Linked DNA regions of Homo sapiens: all the other regions are linked to region 1. Evidence: promoter capture Hi-C in 16 types of primary human blood cells and fetal thymus (Javierre and others, 2016). All regions are on one chromosome and are shown on one strand. The core of a region is centred on a gene start or on the middle of the fragment in contact, and the rest is flanking DNA. Distances in the headings are between cores, read along the strand shown.

Evidence for each region. Contacts are between HindIII fragments. The CHiCAGO score rates a contact against its expected background, and 5 or more counts as called.
Region 2: a contact is called between a fragment that was not itself captured here and the fragment with the promoter of SPMIP7 in region 1, in 1 of 17 cell types (neutrophils). The highest score is 8.2, in neutrophils.
Region 3: a fragment that was not itself captured here is called in contact with the fragment with the promoter of SPMIP7 in region 1 in 1 of 17 cell types (neutrophils); the score reaches 11.0 in neutrophils.
Region 4: a fragment that was not itself captured here is called in contact with the fragment with the promoter of SPMIP7 in region 1 in 1 of 17 cell types (neutrophils); the score reaches 6.0 in neutrophils.

What each region holds. Positions count from the first base shown.
Region 1 is chr7:50,091,734-50,098,232 of GRCh38, forward strand. It overlaps SPMIP7 (sperm microtubule inner protein 7), which reads left to right and starts at 4,150. Exons shown (of 9, transcript NM_001161834.3): 1 at 4,150-4,905. The coding sequence starts at 4,353. ZPBP (zona pellucida binding protein) reads right to left here and starts at 1,513. Exons shown (of 8, transcript NM_007009.3): 1 at 1,335-1,513. The coding sequence starts at 1,461. LOC124901630 (a long non-coding RNA gene) reads left to right here and starts at 1,546. Exons shown (of 2, transcript XR_007060321.1): 1 at 1,546-1,997; 2 at 2,082-2,608. RefSeq lists silencers at 1,317-1,366, 1,447-1,606. The HindIII fragment of the contact is 3,144 bases long and covers 2,026-5,169 here.
Region 2 is chr7:55,424,151-55,430,649 of GRCh38, forward strand. It overlaps LANCL2 (LanC like glutathione S-transferase 2), which reads left to right. Exons shown (of 9, transcript NM_018697.4): 7 at 1,104-1,280; 8 at 4,225-4,297. Among named protein-coding and RNA genes, the nearest start is that of LANCL2, 62 kb to the left of the region's middle. RefSeq lists enhancers at 3,335-3,839, 3,840-4,342. The HindIII fragment of the contact is 1,005 bases long and covers 2,053-3,057 here.
Region 3 is chr7:55,402,879-55,409,377 of GRCh38, forward strand. The region is part of intron 5 of LANCL2 (LanC like glutathione S-transferase 2); the gene reads left to right. Among named protein-coding and RNA genes, the nearest start is that of LANCL2, 41 kb to the left of the region's middle. RefSeq lists an enhancer at 1-543. The HindIII fragment of the contact is 3,726 bases long and covers 1,455-5,180 here.
Region 4 is chr7:55,247,155-55,253,653 of GRCh38, forward strand. The region is part of intron 2 of ELDR (EGFR long non-coding downstream RNA); the gene reads right to left. Among named protein-coding and RNA genes, the nearest start is that of ELDR, 5.2 kb to the right of the region's middle. The HindIII fragment of the contact is 3,838 bases long and covers 1,922-5,759 here.

The DNA of each region.
Region 1 (6,499 bases), core at 2,900-5,399:
ATAGTCTTCATTGTTAAATGAGCAAATGTGATGGGCATAATAGTGTGAGGGGCAGTATAAAAATGCAATAAAGCATTATACCCAAATAGCCTTTAGCAGACAGGAATAGCAAAGTGCAAAGAAAAGGATGTGGTATCAAAGCCAGAGGACTTGAGTTTAAATCCTAATTCTGCCACTTACTGGTTTTAGGAAAATCACTTTAAACTCTAGGAGCTTCAGTTTTCTTATATGTAAAATGGGACTAATAATAATTCCATCCTTACAGTTACTGTAGAAAATGAGAATACTGTATAAATTGTAAAATGCTATATAAGAGGCCTTCACTATTCATCACTTACAAGATACTAACTGCTTATTCTATTTCTTATATCTCATAGGTCTAATCTTATTATTTCATCAAAAGATCACCAGGTAAAAATTTAAAATAAAAACCCTTTCACACCTAATACACGACCACGACCCATATCCAAGAAGCATCTTTCTCCTACATGGCAATTGATGGCTATCGGCTATTCATATACTTATAGAAGAATAATCTTTGGATTCCTGATGCCTGGACTTTGATTTTTAAATCTCTATTCACTCCATTTGTTTCCTTTCTCCTCCCCTATCCCCTACCTACCTCCACAAACCTTTTACATTTATATTCTTGGAGGACTTCTTTTTTTCATTATTCCTTATTTGAACAACTTTTTTCATTTGAAGCAAATCTCTGTGATTTTATCAATTTTGGGTCTAGAATTTTGAGTCTAGAATGCAGCCAAAACCTTTCTAGTTAAATAACAGTTCAATTAAACTTTCACATCCTTCGTCAGTGTTTGTTCATCAGTATCTTACATGTATTTTTAAAACAGTATAGAAAAGTACTTCAATTCTTTAGAGGTCAAAACTTTAAAATCGCATTATTTCCTGTATTTCACAGCTAAAACCAATAGATGGCGCTCCACCATCACGGATAATTTGAAAGCAGCAGGTTGCCTATTTGAAAGACACTGATCTCATCATTACAGAGTTCACACACTGAAATGCAAACCTGGCAGATGACCCATGGACTGAATTGGGGAGTTTATCAACAAAGCAATTTAATTGTAAAACTTCAACTGTGGGTGACGTAGTGATCCATCTATACCTTAATTTCCTGTCATTCACTCCTCTATGCAAATGCAGAGTGACTTTGTACGACTTCCATAAAAAATAAGCCTTTCTTGTCACGTATTAGTGAGCAAGGTGTCTCTATATAAAACGGATGCACGTGACACAAGAAAAGGCAATTCGAAGAGTGGGGGAAGCTGCGGTTGTCCCTGCGGAGCCGGCAGGGCGGCGCGGACCCTCACCTGATGAGGGCACCCGCACCAGGAAGGCGGAGATAAAGAGGAGGATGGCGGCCCGAGAGAGCAGGGAGCCGGCGGCCCGGGTCCGCCGCCTGCCCCGCCGCGCTGGGCCAAGGGCGAAGGCCTCCATCCACACGCCGCCGTCGCCTGCCCACCGTCCGCGCGGAAGGTCGTTAGGCAACGCGCGCCCACCTGCAGCCGGAAGTTGGCGGGCGGAGGACCGGAACAACGGACCTGATGGACGTGCTCCCACTTCCGCCGGGGTGGTAGACTAGGGGTCAGCCTGTGTCTCCACATAGCTGGTGGGGCCTACACGCGCCAACTGTGCTGTGCAGCCCCCGGGCCTTCAGGACAACACAGCCACGCAGGGCATCCTCAAGAACATCAGTGATTTGTCCAAGATCCTAGAGCTGAGAGAGAATCGTTGGGCCCCAAATCCCGTGCTTTTACCTTTGCATAGCGTTTATGATCGAAAAGCCCTTTTTATGAGCCAGGTGGTAGATGTGGGGCCCAGTTTCGAACAACAGATAGTGAGAATGCATGAGTTAAGACGTGTAAAGCCCTCAGTGGACTGCTTTGATCTAGTAATGTCAGCAGATAGTATTTTATGGATGTGTGGAACTTAATTGGGAGATAAATGCAATACACACTTAGTGGGAATTAAAGGTAAGTAAGGCCTTTAGCCTCAGAAAGAAGCTTGATGGAAGGACAGAGGAAATAACCATAGATGAAATTTACTTTCTAAAATAGACCGGAAGATCATCTTATAGTGTCACCTAAATTCAGCAAAACATACAAAACCATCTATCCTGTGTGGGAGACCAGAATATACCTTCTCAAATATGAAGGATTGCTGCCCTGAAGACAAGAACCAGCAGATGCAGGAGAGCTGTCCACCTGCCCTCTTTTTACCCAGAAGCAAGACATAGATTAGAAAGAGAAAAGGTATCCTGCCCCACTCCTTTACCAGGGAGAACAAAGGTTAACCACTGAAGACAGCGTCAGACCCTCATTAGCCTTGAAATGATATCAGAGGAATTAATATTAGCTTTTTTTAAACCATCTTTTGTCTGCTATTTGTTTGCTTAGCCCAAGTTACTGCCTGTAGAGACTCAGAGTCCTTTTCCTTTGTCACATCTCTAAAAATTTCCTAGTCTTTGTTGAAGATGCTATACAAGCTGGAATTCAAAGACGCTTCTTTGAGAACTACTCATTCTCTGGGTGTTCCTCATATATAAATGAAATATATTAATAAACATCTGTTTTTCTCTTGTTAATCTGTCTCTTGTAAAGGATCCATTCTAAGTACAAAGTTATGGGGGTTATTATTTTCCCATACACAGCCTAAGAGGCCATTTATAGCTAGAACTTGTTTTAGAGAAATTGAAAGAGACTCATGCCTCTACTTTTCTGCTGCTGGAAGGATTTACTTAATGGGAGCAGAGCTGTGATAGAAATAAATCTTAAGCAGTTGGTTTAAATACATTGAAGAATGAAGTTTGAGCAACTAAATGTAGAATGCCTAATTACAAGTGAGTTATCACTTTTGATATGAAGAAATGAGTGATCATGGGTGGACTAAAAACTGTCACTTGATATGCTATGATCTGGATGAAGGATTTAAAACTGACAGCCTAACCACCTAATTTAATCTCACTTGTTTAATAGTATATCTCAAAATTGTAAAGACTTTCAATGGGGCATAGGCATTCTGATTGTACCAAACATATCACCCTTGACAGTTGGCCTGATTAACGATTATGTGCCTGACTCTTCAAAGCTAGAATCTTGCCTGTTTTAACATTTTTGCTGCAGTAAGGATGATGTGAACTTTTACCCCAAATTCTAATATTTGCATTTCCTCTTATAGTAGTTCATGCAAGATGAAATTATCCAGGTGAAAGAGCTTTTAAGTGAACCAATACATTAGTGATTTAAATGATATTTTGTGTGTAGACAGTTAACTGATACCCATTGTGGTTTCCTAAAATGAACTTAAAACTCTTACTGTTCTTACTCTGGACACCATGGCAAATTTAAGGGAAGTAAAGATAATTTAGGGCATGTAAAGATGTACCTGTACTTTCATTATAATTTTCTGTTTTTCTTAAAAATTAGATATACTAGGGCTGGGCACAGTGGCTCACACCTGTAATCCCAGCACTTTGGGAGGCCGAGGCGGGCAGATCACAAGGTCAGGAGATCGAGACCATCCTGGCTAACACAGTGAAACCCCATCTCTACTAAAAATACAAAAAATTAGCCGGGCATGGTGGCGGGCGCCTGCAGTCCCAGCTGCTTGGGAGGCTGAGGCAGGAGAATGGCGTGAACCTGGGAGGCGGAGCTTGCAGTGAGCCAAGATCACACCACTGCACTCCAGCCTAGGCGACAGAGTGAGACTCCACCAAAAAAAAAAAATTAGATGTACCAATTTAACTTTAGTAATGTTTATATTTTGTAGTGCATTTAGATTTACATTTAATTAGATAGCAAGTGTTATATATATAAATACTTAATTGTAGTCACATATATACTTTTGAGAAATGTATTGTCACTGAATTAACTGCTTTATTTACACTCCTTAAATATATTTTATACCCATAAAATACCAACTTATGGAAAAATTTTAAAATAAGTAAATGAACACAGCTTTCCTGAGCACTGGGGAGAAAAGTATCATGGAAATATTAGTACCAAGGCTATTTTTGTTTTTCTTAAGAATTGTGATGTACATAATAAATGGTTCAATGTGTTAAGAATTCTAGCCGTTGCCAGGCAACAAGGGCTCTGCTTTATTCTCCTTATGTCATGTTCCTTCATTGCCCTATTCTTCCTTTGGTGGAGGAAAATATTTGCCTTAAAAAGAAAAACAAAATTATCTGCCAACATTTAGAAAGCTGTGTCAATTTTATACTAGTTTAACACAGATCTTTAGTTATTGGCAATAGAGTTTATATAGTTAAATATAAAGGAATTATCAGAAATACTTTATAGTTATCAAAAATTCTAAAGAAAAAGGCCATGGATGTAGAAATTCAGGACACACCTGGAAAGATAAGTATCTCTAAAAGGTCCATCCTTTCAGGAACTGTTGAGAATATAGATTACCCACACTATTGTGATCTCTTAAGAAAAATGAACATGCCTTTTGTGAAAGGTCTTGAGAACAGACATAACTATGGCAGGTTTGAAAAGAAATGCAACCCTGCTTTTCTTAAATTTCACCCTTATCCCCCTTCAGTTTTGCCAGACTATCATTTACATGATCCTTATCCCCCACCATATGGGCCACATTATCCATTATTTCCACTTCGGGATGATGTGACCTTAGGTGATTCCTGTTCAGGGTTTATGAGTCCTGGTGGTGATGCTGATTTAAATCCTGGCATTGGCAGAACCATACCAACCCTAGTGGATTTTAGTGATGTGAAACCTCAACATCGAGTTCCCAGACCAGACACAGGATTTCAAACAACAATAAAAAGGCAAAAAATTCTATCAGAAGAACTGCAACAGAACAGGAGATGGAATTCCAGGGAAGTACCAGACATTTCTATCAGAGCAAGACTTGGAGGTAAATGAAGTGACATGAACTTTCTATTTTTTAAATGCTCAAGGGAAGAGAGTATGGACATAAGATTCAATATTTAGGCAGTTAAATTAACAAAATTACAATGATCTGAAAAAGGTTTTATTTTTAAATTACAGATTATAAGAAACAAAGGAATGATAAACCTTATAAACTTATTTGTAAAAGAAAATTTATTCTTTAAGAAAAGAACATTCATTAGTGATTAACACAAAGTATATAACATTATTTATTCTAGATATATGGATAAGCTTGTTTTACCACAGGGGAATTTATGTATCACTTTGATAATTGTATAGAAATCCTCCTTATCTGTCTCTCTCCTTTGAAAGAATGAATTCACTGATATTATGAAAGAGTTAGTTTTAAGGATTGAAATAAAATGGGAAAAATTTAAGTACTTGAACGTACATTTTTTGGCTCCAATAAGAACAGAAGCTGAAATGAAGCAAACTCTGCATAAATAGCTCCACAGCCATGGAGGCAGGTTTGATGACCTCTTACTGACATCTGCACCATGTGGTTTCTCTGTAAGAACTCCTGTAAATGGAGTTCCTCTAAATGATGAGAAACACCTCCAAAGGAAAGCCACAGGTACTATTTTCTGTATAAAAGCTGTCTGGCAGGCAGGAATGTAAAAAGATCAACATTTTTAGCATCGGAAAAGGAAAGGGCCAAATGCTATAGGAAGAATACTTTTAAACATTATTCTAAGAAATTATAGGTTGAAGAAATGGCTTAGCAAAGCTAACATAGGGCTAAAATGGTGTTAACAGACTTTGTACCACCAAGTCAGAACCAAGTATAGAGCTCATCTGTCCCATGTATTTCACTGCCTGAATCAGTGAAACAGAGGAGTTTAGAGAACAGGCTTTAGACTCAGACTGTCTGGCCTTGAGCTCTGGCAAAAACTCAGTTGCTGTACGACCCAGGGCTAGTTACTATTCTCTTTATGCCTGTGTATCCTTACTTGTAAAACTCACCTAAGAGTAAAACTTCATAAGATAATAAGTAAGGGTCATTTTATGTTAAAAAAAAAAAAAAACTCACCTAAGAGTGAAACTTCGTAAGATAATAAGTAAGGGCCATTTTATGTAAAAATACCTAAAATAAAGAATAAATGTCAGATTGTAAGAAGTCCAAAATTTTCAGTTTCTTCATACATAAATTAGGAATAATCTTACTTCTTTTATACATTTGTAAGAATCAAATGAATTAACACTTGTAAAGTGCTTAGCAGAATCCCTGAAACCTGATAAAACATTTCATTAATAGTAGCTCTTATTATTAACTATTAAGAGTTTCAAAAAGTAATACCTGCAATTTGGGGACAGAGTTCAATATAATTTGTCCTAGGCTTTCAATGACTTTGTACATCCTGGAAACAATTAATTGTAAATGATAAGTACTTTCAGGATGTAACAAACCTAAATACACGTTATTTCTAATACATTCTCATAAAGACGGTCATTTCAGAATTAATTACATACACACTGGTATGCTCTTCAGTGGACTTTCACAAATATCAAAGAAAAATCATAAAATATTATATTGCTGATTTCTACTTGCCCCATTCCAA
Region 2 (6,499 bases), core at 1,305-3,804, 5.3 Mb after region 1:
GCAGGTAGGGATAACTAAGAACAGACTCTGAGAAAAGGATCAGGAAAACAGTACATGGCCTGTGAGGAGAAAGAAGAAAATGTACAAGGGAATCTCAGGAAGTGAAAACCCACAGCTGCTTCTTGCCGTCTCTTGCCTTCACTGAGCCTGCCTGTCTCTGCAGCTGACCATATAAACAACTCAGGGAGGTGGTGCTTGCTCCTGGACCCCAGAAAGCTTTGTGCCAGCTTCCTTGGGATGGGTGAAGATGGATCTTCCTAGCCTGGTGGTGCAGGGTCCTCAGGTCCTGTTGATGTGTACTGATCAGTGTATTGGATACTCTTGCCCTGCTAACAGGGCCTCACTCTCTCGATTGCCTTCTACAAGAGCAGAAGTTTTAGAGCTATGGGATGTATGTGCCAAGAAACAAGGAAAACATCTTACCAAAAAGATATGGCAGCTTTAATTTTAATTTTAAAAACTAAATTTTAGCATTACTTTAGTAAAACCGTGAAACAGAAGGAGGACAAGGGGAATAGGCTAATGCAGGGGTCCCCAGCCCCCAGGCTGTGAATTGGTACTGGTCCGTGGCCTGTTAGGGACTGGGCTGCACAGCAGGAGGTGAGCAGCAGCGAGCAAGCGAAGCTTCAACTGTATTTACAGTCGCTCCCCATCACTTGCATTACTGTCTGAGCTCTGCCACCTGTCAGATCAGCGGCCACATTAGATTCTCGCAGGAGAGCGAACCGTATCGTGAACTGCTTATGCGAGGGATCTAGGTTGCGCGCTCCTTATGAGAATCTAACTAATGCCTGATGATCTGAGCTGGAACAGTTTCATCCCGAAACCATCCCCCACTCACCTTCCTGGCCATTGAAAAATGGTTCCACAAAACCAGTCACTGGTGCCAAAAAGGTTGGAGACCGCTGGGCTAATGGATTGAGATTGCGAGATTCTATGTACTGTGTTGCTGGTGTTTTTTTGTTTGTTTGTCTGTTTTTCACCCCCAGTGCCATTTCAGTTTTCCTAATATCATGCCATATTCTAACCAGAAAGGGAAAGTATTTTGCCAACTCATCGTTGAAACTGTCTTTTTAACACTGCTTTGTTTTTAATTTGCCCAGGTCTTTAAGGAGGAGAAGTACTTGAAAGAGGCCATGGAGTGTAGCGATGTGATTTGGCAGCGAGGTTTGCTGCGGAAGGGCTACGGGATATGCCATGGGACTGCTGGCAACGGCTATTCCTTCCTGTCCCTTTACCGTCTCACGCAGGATAAGAAGTACCTCTACCGAGCTTGCAAGGTGAGGGTGGCTCTGTTGGAACTGCTTCTGAACAACCCCGAGTGTGCACAGAATCCAGAGTCCAGAAGTACAACTCCTGTTCCTTCTTTTAACCTGTTTCTCCCAGTTCTGTAGCTTCCTCTTTTTCTTCTGGCACAGCCTTATCTGTGGTTTCTCTGGGCCACAGTGTCCCTGTCTGTAGAATGGAGAGGACAAATGTCAATGGCTTCTGAAGAATATGTGTCCTGGAGTCACTACGTGATGAGAATTACCACCTGTGCCATTTATTGGCTTTATGAGTTTGGATATGTCTCTTCTTCAAGCCTCAGTTTCCTCATTTGTACAGACAGAAAAAAAATACTACCCACCTCCTAAGGATGTTCCAAGCAGAACTGAGCTAATGTGCAGATTGTTTGTAATCGTCCTGCCAAAACCCTCCACGGCTTCCCATTGACTGCAGATGGAGCCTATGCTCCTCCGCTGAGTTGACAGAGCCCTGCGCACCTTGGCCCCTCTCTGTGTCTCTGCCTGATCTCCTTGCCTTACCCTGCCCTCTAGCCCGCCATAATACAGCCATGTTGCCCTCTCTAAGAACGGAGTGTGTCACTCTTGTTTCCGCTGGACCTGTCGTTAACTGTTCCCTTCAGGAGCACTCTTCCTTCAGCTCCTTGCCATGCTGATCTGAATTGTGACATTCTTGGAGGGATCTTTGAGACCCCCCAAGTGGATGATCACTCAGTTGCTCATTGTATGTTTTGGCTTGTTTCTTGAGTGTGTAGGCTGGTAGAACATAAGCTTCTTGATCTTGTCTGTCTGGGTCACTATTCTACACTAGTACTTGGAGCAGTGCATAGCACCGAGTAGAAACTCAGTAAACATGCACTGGACATGTGAAGATGAATGGCATAGAGCAAGACTCAGTAAATGTTTGCTAGTATTTTTATTATGTACACATTTCACAAAATGTAGTTGTGTGCACACAGAAAAAAGATTGGAAGAAAATACACTAAAGTGTGTACAGTGACCCTTGTTAGATGGAGGCATTGCGGCTGATATGTTCTTTATACTTTTTGAACATCTATTACTTTCTGAAGACTTCTCAACCCCAGTGGAATGGGCCCTACCTCGTTGGTGCACTGGAAAATGCACACACATCTGTGGCTCCCCCACTGATGGAAGCATGAAGGAGGCTGTGGAAGCAAAGAGGGCAGGGCCCAACTTGGCATAGCAGGTCAGCAAGGGATGTCTCAGCCAAGACCTGAGGGACAGCTCGAAATTAAGCAAAGGGGGATGAGGAAAGATGTGAAAAGGAGAAGAAACTGCTGTTCCAAAGGCCCGGAGGTGTGAGCACCCAGGGCCTGTGTGAACTACACTGTGGCTGGAGCACGGGGGATGGGGCAAAACAGGAGCCAGCGAGCGGGGAGCAGCCAGATTCCGCAGGCCTGGGCCAGCCTTGATGATGTGATGATGGTAGATGACTATGCAAATATGGGCAATGCGAGAAGACCGCAGGAGGGGTGAGACGCAGCCGGTTCTTTAAAGATGAGGGGTTTTTCAGGTGGGCCAGGCAGGGGTGGCCTGCAGAGGTGGAATGCAGTTCTGATAAGGAGAATAGCTTGGGCAGAGCTGCAGAGCACGAACCAGCTCTGTGTGTTCCTGACTCCGTAAGCACTTCAGCCTTTGGGATGCAAAGGGAAGGAAATGTGTGGCCAAAGGTAAAAGTCAGACAGGTGGGTAGAGGCCAGAGAAAGTTAGTTCTTCCCTGTAGCCAGTAGTTCTCAACCTTGTACCACTGGGAAGCTTTCAAATCATGCCTGGACCTCACTCTAGACCAGTTAAATGAGGAAGCCTCAGCACTAATATTTTTCAAGCTCCCCCAGTAAGTTTAATAATCAGCTAGCACTGGATACTGATATGGAAGATGGGGGCTCATGGAAGGGTTTGGAATCCATATTCAGACTCCTCTTTTGGAAAGATTGCTGTAGTCCCAGTAGGAAGAATGAGGCGGGCTTGGGTTTCCCCAAATAGTGGTTTAGTAATTAATGCAAGAAATGTTGAGTCATAAACCAAAGCATAGGTTGGGATAAAAAATGAGACATTTAGAAACACCTATGATGTAAAGCCCACAGAATTTAACGCATGTTTTTAAATGTGGAGAAGATGGAAATATCTGAAGGTCTTTCTGTTGTCTGACTCGGAAAACTGGGTAGATGGGCCATCAAACAAGCTAAGAGTGAGCAGATTGGGAGGGGAAAAGCAGAGTGAGTTTCTTTTTACGTGTGCTGAACTTGATACTCCTCATGTTTATTACTTATGATTCTTAGTGTACAAATGACCCTTCAAATTATGATAGCTTAGGCACAAAAGGGAAGTTTATTAAAACGATATGGAAACACCCATTGAAGAGGTCTAAGAAGAAAGGGTCAAGGAGCTCAGAGGAGAGCACAGGGAGGGCTGAGGGCCGGGGGCTGGGAAGGTGGAGAGGCTGCCAAGCAGCAGCAGCAGCTGTGGAGGGGCTGCAGTGAGAGGCGGCGCCCCAGGCAGGGCTGAAGCTGTTTCCCAGCTGGGGCCAGGGGAGCCAGCAGCTGCTGCTGAGAGCCATTTTAGAGCCAGGGTTTTTTGTTCAGGATAGAGCAGGCGTTTCGAGTTGCTTCTGGAATCATCAGCTGAAGCGGCAGGAGGAAGGTGCCAGGGAGAACAGAGTGTCGTTGAGCCGTTCGGTTTTCACCTCGGACTTCCCAGCAGCTGTAAGGCAGACCCCACTCTACAGCTGAGGCAGCCGCAAGCAGAGCCTTGCTGGGCCTCACCCCTGGAAGAGGGGGTGCAGTAGCCCATGGAGCCCACGCTGAATGCCCTACAGCTGGGGGTCCACTTCCCTGATGCCTGTGAAGACATTGCATTCTCATTTATTGCCTTTTCACCAGGTAGAAACTCCAGTCTTAAAAAGAAATCCCTTTCTTTTCAGTTTGCAGAGTGGTGTCTAGATTACGGAGCACACGGGTGCCGCATTCCTGACAGACCCTATTCGCTCTTTGAAGGTAAGAGTGAGAAAAATGCTATAGATTAAATGTTTGGGTGAAATTGGTTCTCCTGCCCTTGTGGACTGGCACTGTTCATATTTGACCTGGCTCAAGTAATACTTCCAAACTGTAAAATAATCAGCAGAGTAGCTTATTGCTGAAAATTATGTTGAATCTCTTCACCTTACCTATTGTTTTGTGCTCCTGTGAATGTCTTCCAAGTGTTCTTAGGTTTTTTGTGAGGTGTCTATGCAGACAGAACGTAGAAGGCTTGCTGTTAGCAATGGAAGAAATAGTTTACTCCTCTGCATTTCATCTGTAATGTTGCATATTTAATATTGGTGTATTCATGGGAAGCTTGAATAATTACTTAAATATATTTAATATCATATAAAGAAGTATGAATAATTAATATTAGCAATTAGAAATATTAGTAAGTAGAAAAAATAGCAAGAGTGAATATTGAAGAAAGTTCTGAAAAGAGGAGCACTGATAGGCAGGCAGTGAAAGCAACAAGGATTCCAGAGTCCACCACGGGCGCAGGGAAGGGAAGACAGGAGCACAAACAGAAGCCCCACAAACAGGCCCGGATATTCGTTAGATTTGTATGTGGGTATGGGCGTGCTTTCTGTTTGCTAACATTTTGGTAAAGGTTTTTGCATCTCTATTCATGAAGGATATTGGCCTACAGTTTTCCTGTCTTGTGCTGTCTTTCTCTGGTTTTGGTATCAGGGTCATACTGACCTAATAAACCATGTTGAGAAGTATCTTCTTCTCTTCTGTTTTCTGGGACAGACTGTGTTAATTGGTGGAAGAATTGGTATTAGTGTAACTTAAATGTTTGGTAGAATTCTCCAGTACAAACTTCTAGGTCTGGAGATTTATTTTTCTAGACTTTTAAAATAAATTCCGTTTTTAAAATAGTTATAGGGCTGTTCAAGTTATCTATTTCATATTGGGTGAGCTGTCATAGTTTGTAATTTTTGGGAAATTGGTTAATTACGTACATGTGGTGAAATGCAAATATGTAAGCTATTGGTATTCCTTATCATCCTCTGTCTGCATCGTCTGTAGTGGTATGTCCTGTTTTAGTTTTCATACTGGTAATATTTTTAAATCATATTTTAGAAATACGAGCAGAAAACAGAGCATGTGTCACATGTTTTGCAGAAGATGATCTTTTTTAATATTCAGAGAACTCATAAGGAAAAAGTACTTACTAGAATAAAAGTTGTAGTCCTCTATGTCATAAAAATGCAATGCATTTGCATCAGATATAACAGAGTTAATGCCTGAACTCTAAATGGAGTTTATCAACTTGATAATAGCACCTTCAGAGCCCCAGTGGGTCAAAAGCTTTGGATGTACAGCTCCCTAAAGGCGGGAAGTTAATAGGTCACCTCCTTCCCCTGTGCCTCGCCAGTGCCTGGCAGACAGAACTGTGGGGGACTCTCACCAAATTCCCGTCAGGGGACGGAGGGATTATTAAGCCGTGTGCCTAGCAATGCAGGCCATTGTGGCAAACTGGCCGGCTGGAGGAGCCACTGGGAGGGCTCACTGGCACCTGGCACCCCTTCTGGAGGAGCTCACTCCTGCTGGAGTGCACCGCCCAGTGGATCCGCTGCCCACACACCTGAGCAGGAAAGCCAGGCTCATCCCCGCAGGGCCTGCTGTAGGGCCTCCTAGGCTTGTTATGGGTCCCTGTTTACTTCTCATGGGCACTCCTAGGTCAGTGGTTTTCTAATTTTTTAAACAAGTTTCTGGAACCTTTCTTTAAACAAAAACTTACAGAGAAGGCTGGGAACACCCCAGATGACCGTCAGTAGGAAAAATGGGTAAACAATCTGCAGTGTACTGTTCAGCAGTAAGAAGGGGCCAACTATGAACAGGCACAGAACGTGAATGAATTGCAGGAACCCTGACGAAGGAGCCAGATACAAGGGCTGTACACTGTGGCCATGCTCATAAGAGTGCCAGAGCAGGCAGAACTAATCCATGGTGGACCAAGACCAGGCTGCTGGTTACCTCTGGGGGGACCACAGGGATGGGAGGGACTGGAGAGGGGCACTTGGAACTTCCTGGGGTGATGGAAATATTCCAGGTCTTAATCGGGTTTTGTTTGCACATGTATATGCATTTTACAAACCTCAGAGAAGTACATTTTGGATTTATGTGTTTTATTGTACGTGAATTTTACATCAAAAGAAAAACTGTAAACAA
Region 3 (6,499 bases), core at 2,068-4,567, 5.3 Mb after region 1:
TGGGCGGCCTGGCAGAGACGCTCCTCACTTCCTAGATGGGATGGCGGCTGGGCAGAGATGCTCCTCACTTTCCAGACTGGGCAGCCAGGCAGAGAGGCTCCTCACATCCCAGACGATGGGCGGCCAGGCAGAGACGCTCCTCACTTCCCAGACGGGGTGGCGGCCGGGCAGAGGCTGCAATCTCGGCACTTTGGGGGGCCAAGGCAGGCAGCTGGGAGGTGGAGGTTGTAGCGAGCCGAGATCACGCCACTGCACTCCAGCCTGGGCACCATTGAACACTGAGTGAGTGAACGCGACTCCGTCTGCCATCCCGGCACCTCGGGAGGCCGAGGCTGGCGGATCACTCGCGGTTAGGAGCTGGAGACCAGCCTGGCCAACACAGCGAAACCCCGTCTCCACCAAAAAAATACGAAAACCAGTCAGGCATGGCGGCGCGCGCCTGCAATCGCAGGCACTCGGCAGGCTGAGGCAGGAGAATCAGGCAGGGAGGTTGCAGTGAGCCGAGATGGCAGCAGTACAGTCCAGCTTTGGCTCGGCATCAGGGGGAGACCGTGGAAAGAGAGGGAGAGGGAGAGGGAGAGGAGGGAGAGGGAGAGGAGGAGCCTTTCCAATTTTCTTTCGGTATGGAGTCTTAAAGCAGATTAGTTATCTGTTCCCCACACTTTTCTGGGTTTTTTTTGTTTGTTTGTTGTTTTTTTTTTTTTTTTTTTTGAGACAGAGTCTCACTCTGTCGCCCAGGCTGGAGTGCAGTGGTGTGATCTCGGCTCACTGCAACCTCCACCTCCCAGGTTCCGGTGATTCTCCTGCCTCAGCCACCCGAGCAGCTGGGACTACAGGCGCGCACTACCACCTCCAGCTAATTTTTGTATTTTTAGTAGAGACGGGGTTTCACCATATCGGCCAGGCTGGTCTCAAACTCCTGACCTCATGATCCGCCCACGTCAGCCTCCCAAAATGCTAGGATTATAGGCATGAGCCACCGTGCCTGGCTTGCCCACCCTTTTCTTCTGTGCTTGTCTTCCTGTTAATTGCAGTAGGAACTCTTAATGGGGAAAAATCTTCAGGGAGCAACAGGGCCTGCAGAACCCAACTGAGGCAGAGACTTTGTCATGTCCTGATAACTTTGCTTGCTGTCAGTTGTCTTCTGTGCTTTTGATGAGTTTATTGCTGTGGTTATGATCTTGTCTCTCAAACATCCCTGACAACGATAGAGTACTGACTCTTCTATCAGGCCAGTAGAGACCCCATAACTAAACATTGCTTCAGGCTGTGCTTGGCTTGAGCATAAGCCTAGGGCTTCAGCCTAGCCTGTGGCCTAAGTTCTCTTCCCTGCCAAGCGCACAGCCGCCTCTGCCACCGCCTCCTCCTCCTTCTTCTCCTCCTCCTCCCTCCTCTACCTTTCTTCCTGCCCACTGTTCTCCTCCTCCTCCTTCTTTCTTCTTCTTTTAAATTTAAGCTTTCTTTATTCTGCAAAACTACAAAACTAGTAAGTCAAAGGATATGGATTAGAATTTAGATATCTTAGACTGGAAAACCTATATATTACTTTTTAAAATTTTACTTCAGATTCTTTTTATGTCTAACCTACTGCCTCATGTTCTCACTCACTAAAGGAAACCAGGAAATTCATACCTACACAGGATTAAAACTTTTTCTAGTTATTGTCTTTGTTTATTGTTGTTGAAAGTAAAACATGCATATATGCATATAGTTCATTTTGTGAATTTTCTTTCTTTTTTTTTCTTTTTTTTTTGAGATGGAATCTTGCTTTGTCGCCCAGGCTGGAGTGCAGTGGCGCCATCTCAGCCCACTGCAACCTCCGCCTCCTGGGTTCAAGCCATTCTTCTGCCTTAGCCTCCTGAGTAGCTGGGATTACAGGCATGCACCGCCACACCTGGCTAATTTTTGTATTTTTAGTAGAGATGGAGTTTCGCCATGTTGGCCAGGTTGGTCTCGAACTCCTGACCTCTGGTGATCCACCCACCTCAGCCTCCCAAAGTACTGGGATTACAGGCTTGTGAATTTTCTTCATGATGCAGGTACATGCTTTCAAAGTAACCAGAATTCCATACCTCATTTAAAAATGGCACTGTTATTTTGAACAGTTAGATTTTGTGTATGTGTTAGGGTTCTCCAGAGAAACAACCAATAGGAGATAAATATTATATATGAGATGGGATTTCTTAAAGGAATTGGCTCACGCAACCATGGAGTCCCAGAAGCCCCATCATCTGTCATCTACAGTCCTAAGACCTGGGAATGCCAGGGCTGTAACTCCACTCCGAGTCAGAAGACTGAGACCCAGGGGAGCCAAATCCCAGTCCAAGGGCAGGAGGAGACTGTTGCCCTGGTTGAAGCCGGCAGGCAGGAAGGAACAGATGTTTTCTTTCTCTGCCTTTGGTTCTGTTCAGGCCTTGGAGGGACTGGATGAGGTGCACCCACTTTGGGGAGGGCCATCTGCCTGACTGAGTCCACACCGTTCAATGCTAATCTCAACTGGAAACACCTTTAGAGACACACCCAGACACCATGTTTAATTTGACACATAAAATTATCTATCATAGTGTATTCTGTATTTTCCCGGGAAAATGTTTTAACAGTGGTTCAGGAACTTTTTTTTTTTTTTTTTTTTGGGACAGGGTCTCACTTTTGCCCAAGCTAGAGTGCAGTGACACAATCTCTGCCTACTGCAAACTCCATCTCCCGGGTTTAAGTGATTCTCCTGCAGCCCCACGAGTGTGCTGGGATTACAGGCGTCCACCACCATGCCTGGCCGGAACTTTTTTTTTTTAATGCTAATTCCCTTAGGGGAACATAGTAATGTAAGAACCATGCCAGTGTCTTTCATGTGTTTAGGCTGATTTTGCTGTATATTATGGACTTCCTTGGGAGGAATACAAATCATAAAATACTCCATTGATCTGCTTTTAAAGTGAGGAACTTGGAACACTATGTAGTAAGTACTTGACTTAGAGATTGAGCCAGGTTTTCTTTCAAGATTCTTAGGCAGTGGCGTGGTAGAGCCAGCATGGGGAGCTGCCCGCATCTCTTCCCTGCTGCACGGTTCGTGGCTGTTGTCAGTGCAGAACTACGATTCAGAAATGTGGAAAGGAGGGCTTTGTTTCTCATACAGGGTTACAGCCTGCAGCTAATCATACGTAGCCTTGGGCTAGAAGCCAGAAATATTCTGAGGGAGTGGAAAGGGAGCAGGAACGTATGCCAAGCCAGGTGGCCGAATGTATGTGTCGGTGAGCTGCAGGAGGAGTGGAGTAGTTGCTAGAGAAGTGTGTGCCTGCAGACTTGGACTTCGTGCTCCTTCTTGAGATCCATGTTCAGAAAATGGTGGCACAAGCGGGATCCAAGGGTAGCATTTTCCACCCTCTGAGTCAAAAGGTGAAGCAGAGGAACAAAACCCCTCCCTGCATGTCCTTCATAGGCTGGCCAGAGCGTCCCTGGTGCCTTCTCAGGAACAAGTGCTGGCTGCTTGGGTTGTTGAAGCCACAGAAGATGGGGGAGCAGTCAGGTGGTTGTCGCTGGCAGTGCAGAGTCGGCTGAAAGATCTGGTTCCCGCTTAGCCCTTAGGGCAGAAAGCCTCATGGGGTCAGCAGGGGACGGGCAGAGCAGGGTGAGCCCCACCTCTTAGCCTGTCATGACTGGGAGCTTAGCTTCAAGGTTGCCTCAGGCTTCCTTGGCCAAGAAAGGGTCTGCTCAGTGAGTTGGGGGCTTAGAATTTGGTTCTTATTTCTCATTGTCTAGTAGTTTAGTCATGTAAAAGTGGTAGTTTCAACTGGAGGGTGTCGTTGGAAGGCTATCAGAACAATATATGCAAAAACTCTTAAAATATCACTTAAAAAGAACTCCACTTTCATGATAGCAGAATAAAAACAGTTCGCCTCTTGAAAATAATCTCAGAACAACCAGAAAAACAACAAAACAGAAACCGAAGTTCTTTGATGAAGCTAGGGGACATCTGGAGCTCCAGCTGCAAACCTGTGAACTGAAGCAGGCAAAAGAATGACAGCTGACCTGCTGGGATGAAAGATGGCGTCAGTGCCCGAGGGGGACGGTGCCCACGAGAAGCAAGTCAGTTTGTTCTACAGAACCCCAGAACTCAGGAGGGGAAAGTGCCATGTCCCCAGTAGGCATTGCCATACGTGGGCTTGGGGGACTCTCTGGCACAGGAGGCTTCTTTGAGCATGTGCAGTGGTTGGACCTCTGTGAGCACCTGCACCCAGCACAGGGAGGGAACTGCCTATCCTTCAACTCGTGCTGGAGACAAAAGGAGTTAGGTCTGGAAAAACTGACTAGGCTCTTTTCAATTCAGGAAAGCCAGATGTAGAAGAGAGTTGGAGTGAAGCACAGAACTAAAAATAGGGGGCGAGAGTGAGTGTCCATGGTCCAGGGTGAGACTGCCTCTCTGTCACCGCCAGCCTCAGGCACCGTCACCTCTCCCTCACCCCAAGGGGCAGCACCACCTCCACCCCACTCGGGGCTTGAAGTCACTTTTCCGAAGAAACAAGTAGCTCAGATAAAAGTTTCATAAGTACAGGTATTTGAAAGCCCCCATTAAAAAGTTAGTCTGCCATCCATGATGGTTAATTTTATGTGTCAACTTGACTGAGCCCTGGTGCCCAGACATGTGGTCAGACATTCTGGATGTTTCTTTGAGGGCGTTTTTGAATGAGATTTACATTTAAGTTGGTGGACTTTGAGTGAAGCCAGCTGCCCCATAGGATGTGAGTGGGCCTTGTCAATCAGTTGAAGGTCTGACTAGAACAAAATGCTGGACCCCCAGGCAAGAGAGGATTCTCCAGCACTCTGCTTTCAGACTCCAGCTGCAGCTCCTTCCTGAGTCTCCAGCTTGCTGGCCACCCCAGGCAGTTTGTGGACTCATGAAGCCTCTGCAGCCAGTTCCTTGGAGTGAATCTCTTTCTCTACTTTTACACATCCCGTTGGTCTACTTCTTTGGAGACCCCTGGCAATCCCCCATCCAGCCACTCCACAGTGATTCCCACCGTTCCGCAGCCCCTCCGGTGCACTGAGGACAGCGAGGAGCTGTGCCTTATGCGTGAGCACAGACCAGTAGCCGATGAGCGGACATGGCAGAAAAGCCCCAGCTTGAAAGATGGAGACCTGAACAAGTAGAAATAAAAACAAAGAGAAAGCAGGAAGTGGAAGAAAGCTTCGAATAAATAATAATTCATAATTAATATCCTCAGGGAAATAAGAGAAGCTGTTGCATCCAAGAAACAAACATTTGAGGGAAAAAGAGAGCTCTTGAAAATAAAATATATAATAGCTGAATTTTTAATAAGTTCATGAAAATGGGAAGCAAAGTCACATATCTTAGAAAGCAGGCAGAAATAGACAATGGGAGAGGAAAACGTAAGAAAGAGGATTAATCCAGGAGGTTCAGCATGTGACTAGTGGGAGACCTAGTGAGGGAGAACACACAATAGGAGGGAGGAAAATAACACAAAAATATGCTCTAGAAATGAGGGACATAGGCTGGGCGCAGTGGCTCATGCCTGTAATCCCAGCACTTTGGGAGGCCGAGGTGGGCGGATCACTGAGGTCAGGAGTTTGAGACCAGCCTGGCCAACACAGTGAAACCCCGTCTCTACTAAAAAAATACAAAAAATTACCTGGGCCTCATAGCGGGCACCTGCAATCCCAGCTGCTTGGGAGGCTGAGGCAGGAGAATCGCTCGAACCCGGGAGGGAGAGATTGCAGTGAGTCGAGATCACGCCACTGCACTCCAGCCTGGGTAACAGTATGAGACCCTGTCTCAAAAAAAAAGAAAAAAAAAGAAATGAGGGACATAGTTGCATATTGGAAAGACCTACCAGTTTCCTACACAATGAGTGCAGACAGACAAATCCACATCATGCCCGTTATTGTGAAAGCTTAAGATAAAGGGATAAAGAGACAATGCTTAAAACATTAGACGGGAAATAGCTGGGTGTAGTGGCATGCGCCTGTAGTCCCAGCTACTCGGGAGGCTGAGGCAGGAGAATTGCTTGAACCCAGGAGGTGGAGGTTGCAGTGAGCCGAGATCGTGCCACTGCACTCCAGCCTGGGCGACAGTGAAACTCTGTCTCAAAAAAAAAAAAAAAGAAAAGAAAAAAACAGGTTATGTACAAAGTCCAAAAATGACATTGGACTTTGCAACAGTTTCATTGAAGCTAAAAGATAAATGGAAATGATTTCCAAGTTTTTTTTTTTTTTGAGACGGAGTCTTGCTCTGTTGCCCAGGCTGGAGTGCACTGGCGCGAACTCGGCTCACTGCAAGCTCTGCCTCCCGGGTTCATGCCATTCTCCTGCCTCAACTCCTGAGTAGCTGGGACTACAGGCACCTGCCACCATGCCCGGCTAATTTTTTTTTTGTATTTTTTAGTGGAGATGGGGTTTCACCGTATTAGCCAGGACGGTCTCGATCTGACCTCATGATCCACCCGCCTCGGCCTCCCAAAGTGCTGGGATTACAGGCGTGAGCCAC
Region 4 (6,499 bases), core at 2,591-5,090, 5.2 Mb after region 1:
GAAATATTTGCATAAAATCCAGAAAAGGGAAGAGTATTCATCTTTTTGGGGTAATTGTGGATATTCTTTTTGATATTACACCAAAACGCAAAAATAGTAGTTTATCAAAGGTTCCTTGCGATGTGGAACGTGAAACCATGTCAATTAAGGCTTCTTATTCTGTCACACTCATATCCATTGCAGCTTGAATAGATCTTTTACTCAAGCAGCATTTTGTAGCAAAATGCACTGGTCATTTGGAAAATACTGGATCCTTGAGTTATGAATTTTTTCAAATGTTGTCACATTTCATTATACGATACCACAAATCACATCTGTTCATGCCACTGCTTATCTCATCAGAGAAGTCATTAGGTATTGCAAAACTGTCAGGCTCATGGGGGCAGACATAAGTTTTCCAAAATCAAAGTTATTTCTTTATAAAATATAATCACTGTTTATTTATTAATCAAAGTCAAAATGGGAAATAAAATATTTACCAGATCACTGCACTAATCCCTTTTCTGCTCTGATTCATAATTTAGGATTCCTAGCTATCAGAGATAGCAGGGTGCCAGCTGGGGTCAGGTTTCCTCTCCATCTTAGCAGTTCTGTGCTGAAAAATGTAGTTTCTTTTCATGGTGTGACCTTTTTATGAGTCCTAAGTATAGACTGGCCATTTGTAGTTGAGCTTCTGTATGGGAGCCTTCTGGTATCTTCACATAGCTGTGTTGTGTGTTTGGGGAAAGAGCTCTGCTTTTCCCACATTGAGGAAAACTCACTGCTTCCTAGGACTGGTGCATTACTGTCTTCCAGGAACTTCTCTTCAGAGTTCTCTTGGTTTAGATCCACTATTTCCTGGATCGCACAGCTTTTTAAAATTTGCTATTTGTTTTTGCCAGGTTACAGCCTTGCAGTAGTTTTCAAGAAAGATACAGAGGAGTGAAAGCAGAGGTCTCAAGGCCCTCACTGGCATGGGTGGCTTCCAAGCCCTTGGCCTTAAATTCACATGACTAATATTTTTGTAAAATTTGCAAAAATAAAACCATTCCTTTTCTACACTATCAATAAAAAACAAAATTTTGGGCCGGGCACGGTGGCTCGTGCCTGTAATCCCAGCACTTTAGGAGGCCAAGGCGGGTGGATCACGAGGTCAGGAGTTCAAGACCAGCCTGGCCAACATAGTGAAATCCCATCTCTACTAAAAATACAAAAATTAGCCAGGCCTGGTGGCAGGCGCCTGTAGTCCCAGCTACTCAGGAGGCTGAGGCAGGAGAATCGCTTGAACCCGGGAGGCGGAGGTTGCAGTGAGCCGAGATTGCACCACTGCACTCCAGCCTGGGTGACAGAGCGAGACTCTGTCTCAAAACAAACAAAGAAATAAAAAGAAACAAAATTTTGAGCAACCTTAGTAAAGAAAGGACTGAATATTTCTACTCTATAAAAATATTACGAATTGTCATTATATCAAAAGCAATCAAAGCGTGTGGGAGGAAAATACTGGCTGCCCTTTTTAGTGGAGTGGGGTTGGCACAGCAGGGCAGGTTCTCAGCTGGTCCACACCATCACCATCGCTGCACCCGCCGGCCGAGTGCGGAAGGTCTTCTGCACGTCCTTCCCTTGTGGTCTCCTTTGCACTCGCCAGCACCATTCCTAAATGGTCTTTGCATTTTCCTCTTTCATCTGACACACAGATGCCTACATGTCACTTTTGTTTTCTGAAATTATACAGAATTATCCTTTGCATAGACTGTGGTGTTCGAAGCCCCATCTGATTTCTAGTTTTGTGTGATGACATCCACCACCATCATCATCCTTCATGCACCTCATATCCCAATGTCTGCTTGGCTCACTATTTCCAGAAGCTGTTTCTGCTGCCTGGGATGTCTTTATTGCCATCCATCCCATAGGACTTGGCTCACAACCCAGTCCTTCTCTATAAAGCTTCCATAGACCCAAGCATCCTCCTCCTCCCAACCAAACTAGCCACACGCCTGCTGAACTCTGCTAGTATATCTGTGGTAGCTCCTGCCCTTATATTCACTCATGTGACTGTCTCTCTCTAGGTCATGAGCTTCTGCAGACAACAAACTCTTTACCCTGGGCAGCTAGCACAATGGTTTGTAATTAAATAATATTTATCATTTAACTTGAGAGATTAGCAAGAGATATATATGGTTCTGTGAATAGGACCTCCTTGGGTAGAAAGATCAAGAAGAGCCAGAGAACCAGAACTACGCAGACTTTTTCCTGGGGAAGCTCAATTATATTCTGAGTTTGCTGAGACTTTGCATCTTTGAAATTTAGAAAACTAGAGCAGTAAGAGCCTCTTTCCTCTGGTTTCATCATTAAGAGTGACGCAGAACTGCCTCCTTCAGACCATGACCCGAGTTTCAGGTTAAGTGAGGAGGCTCCGGCAAAGCGATCTCTCCACATTCCTCCAGGAGAGGACTGTGCAGATTGCAAAGGAAGGAGGCATGCCTGGCCATCTGAGAGCTGTGACTACAGCTCCCTCCAGACGATTTCCAGTGGAGCAGGCCTCATAATGTGGAGGTCGGCATACAGTACAGTCTGTCTCCTCGACCCCAGCTCCCACTCCTGCAGTCAAAGAGCCTGGACCTGGGCTCTGAGCCCTGTACAAGGATGAGAAGCAGAGGCAGCACTTCAGGTTTTTGTCCAGGTTTGATCATGAATGAGTAGAAGGCCCAGTAACTACCTTCCGCCTAAAAAAAACATTTTATTGGCTCCTCAAAAAGCAGGAATACAGGAGCAACTGACTCTTCTCTCTCTACCAACACCACCCTTTGACTCCCCTCACTTTGTCTCCTTTGCTCCTCACATGTTGTGGTGAAGGGAAATCCTACGGTCAAATAGTTTGCAGGAGAGCAGGGCCAGTAGACGCAAGGCTCAGTTAAAGACTTGAAGACCTGGAGAGAGAAAATCAGGGGCCCAAATGGGACCTCTGCTGCCAGGACTCCAAACTCCTGTTGTCAAAACTGTAAAATATTTTCAGAATCTAGTTATCAATTATTTTATTTTTTCTGTGATAGGAGAAAATCATGGAAGTCAATAAAGTAAGATTTAAAATAGGCCTCAAATTATTTTTTTACGGATGGTAAAAAAATAATGCATGTAGAAAAAAATACAACAGAGAAAACTTGGAAACATTTTTTTAAGTTGAAATAAAAGGTCGAATCATCCATCAGGGGCCCATGTTCTATTTTTTCTTTGCGGCTCAGGCACAGAGCTTCAGCACACAGCCTCCAGGGGGCTGTCCTGAGTCTAACCACAGTATTCCCGGAGAAAGGAGGCAAGGGCTGGGAAGGAGTGTGTCGCTGCTCTTCAGTGCCCTTCTAGGAGCTGGTGTCCACATGTCACTCGTGTCCCATCGGAGTGATTCACACGGCCACACCTCACTGGGAAGTAGAGTCTACTCTGGGTGGTTGTTCACCCAACTAAAAATTCCAAATGCATTATTGTAGAGAGAAGGGAGGGCAGGCATGGGAGAGTGCCAGTAGCCTCCAGCACAGGGTCAAATCCCAAGGACAATCTATGTTAGGCCAGCAGCAAATGAGGATGAAGACGCAAATGGGAGAGACTAAGAGGAACTGTGCAGGGAAGTCAGGGGCTGCAGCAGCCCAGCCAGAGAGGCCCAGACACAGAGATTCTTAGGAGGAAAACGAGGCAGCTGACTCCAGGAGAGAATCCAGGGGAAAAGATATATTTGGAGGGTTTTTTTTTTTTTTTTTTTGAGACGGAGTCTCGCTCTGTCGCCCAGGCTGGAGTGCAGTGGCGGGATCTCGGCTCACTGCAAGCTCCGCCTCCCGGGTTCACGCCATTCTCCTGCCTCAGCCTCCCAAGTGGCTGGGACTACAGGCGCCCGCCACTACGCCCGGCTAATTTTTTGTATTTTTTGTAGAGACGGGGTTTCACCGTTTTAGCCGGGATGGTCTCGATCTCCTGACCTCGTGATCCGCCCACCTCGGCCTCCCAAAGTGCTGGGATTACAGGCGTGAGCCACCGCGCCCGGCCTGGAGGGTTTTTAAGTGAAGTTATACCATAGGGTTTGCAGCATAAACCCTCTACACTGAACACCTACAAAATCCCTGATAAAGGTCTCGTGGCTTGTTAACGTGGTTTGGAGTGGACCTGTTTGGGTAAAGATTTGGGGGGACCCATGTCAGGGTGGGCTGAATCATTGTGCTTAAAACACACCAGAGATTGCATGGTGTATTGCAGCGGGTGATTGGTGATTGGTAGGTGAAAGAAAGATGTGCTCATTCATCCCTGAGTGGAGAGATCTCTCTGGGCTAGCCACAATGTATGAAAACAGGGCATGAAGAATGTCTCCAGCCCACATGGACTGCATTCTTGCTGGTTGGGAATGTGTCCCCAAGTTCTCCACCTTCCTGTACTAGTTAAGAAGGAAGGGCCAGGTGCAGTGGCTTGTGCCTGTAATCCCAGATATGCAGGAGGATGGCCTGAGGCCACGAGTTCGAGACCAGCCTGGGACACATAATGAGACTCCATCTCTAAAGGTAGTTTGTGCCTGTAGTTCCAGCTACTCAGGAGGCTGAGGTACACTTGGCAATTGATTACCATTCACCTTGACATCAGTGAAAGTTTTCCTGGAGATTGGGGTGTGGTTGTCTTTTGCTTTACCCTACTGTGCCTTTGCCCATGTTTGTCTTTCCTTGATTCCATGGTTTTCTGTGGAAACTGAGGGAAGCATGAGTTTGTGCCACTGTCTGGTGTCACAGAGGCCTGAGGTCTGAAAAGGTACTCTCGACCTGAGGAGTTGTCGGGTGATGGGGAGAGCATTCTAGGCAGAAACAACAATATGAAAAAATAGAGAGTTAGGAGCCCAAAGCCACAAATCAGAAATCAAGAGCAAAGAGAGCTGGAGAAGGTAGGGTGGAGTAAAAACACGTCTAGAAAGATCTAGGGCTCAGTGGGTCAGCACATCTCCTCTGAGGCGTCAGTTCCAGTCAGCTGAGAACTGCAGCCTAGTGGGGGCCTCCCGCACATTGGAAAGAGTACCTGGATTAGTCAATGAGGTTTGCCTCCAGGGGCTGGTCCTCTTTAGGAAGACCAGCAGACGCAAGGATACCTCATCACAAGCCTAAGTTAAGGGCATAGAGGGCCTGGGATGCCACTAAGAAGTCCGAGGTCTGTCTAAAGGGGCTCATTTCATAACTGAATGCCAAATACATTCAGTGATCTCAGGGTCCCAGGGCCTGCTCTTGACTAAAAATTAAGCTGAAACACCCTCTATTAAAAGCTGGCCAGAGGAGATGGTGGGTTGAATGTGGCTCCTGGGCCATGTTTGCCTCTGGAACACCAGTGCAGAGCAGCAGGGACAGGAAGAGCCCCAGGGACTTGCAGACTGGGAGGAGAGGCTTCCAGCTGCCTCTGAAAGGGAGCTTTGCTCTTTCCAATTTTCTGTTCTTTCTGTGAAAAAGTTTAAGTCCTTCTGGAGCTGGGCTGATGGCATGTGAGTGTTACCATGTGTCATTCTGTAAGTGCTCTCTGCAAATTCCTAGAGATTCTCCCTCATGCCCCAGGGGAAAAGCAATTTTTATTGTCCCACTGTGATCCATGAATCTTATCCCCAGTGTCTATGAATCCTGACTGTTGGACTTCAAACCCTCTGGGCCCTTTCTCAAAGAGCTCCACGGAAAGCAAGCTCCTGATGGCTGCCCTGACACTTCAGGCTTCCTGAAGTGTCTACTCAAAATAGTCCCTAACCTAAGGGCATGACTTTAGTAATGTAAGTTTTAAGCTTCCGCATGTCAAATTCCCCAATCCACCCAAAACAATTTCCTAAGGGCTAGCTTCCTGGGACCCCCACATTCCCCATTTTTCTGCCTAAGCCCACGTCTGGACATGGCTTGGTTCATTGCTCACAAACGCTCCTACCCTCTCTCCCCACCACCCCCTCACTTGGGCCATGCATCTGTGTCATCTTCCAGCAGCTCCTGGATCTGACATTCATTGGCTGTTTAGGTTACTATTCCCTCCATGCCCATGATGCCACTGTGGTTTGTGCTTCTTCATGTGAAGTTAAAGGAGAAGATATCTAAGAACATAACCTTGAGAGCACTAGCAACCATAGGTGGACTGTGAGGAGAAAGCCAATGAAACATGTTGAGGAGAAATAGGCAGAGAAGCAAGCAGGCAGCTTTGCAGGAGTCAGAGGAGAGGAACATTGTGAGGAGTGCACGATCTGGGTCAAACACCAGAGGGATGGTGTGGAAGACAAGGACTGAAAAATGTCTACTGGATAATTCTACCAAGCGGGGCAGCTGGGCACAACCACAGAGGAACTGACTTAAGGGGAAATTGTGCAGCCAGTAGTCAGGTGGAATCCAGATGTCAGTGGGACCTAGTGGAAGGGGCTTCAATTTTTGAATCGCTCAAGGTTGGCCAGAAGCTGGCTCTGTAATCTTGGACAAATAACAACTTCTCTGAGCCTCAGTTTCTCTTCTATAAAATGGACATAAAACACCTTCCTTGCAGA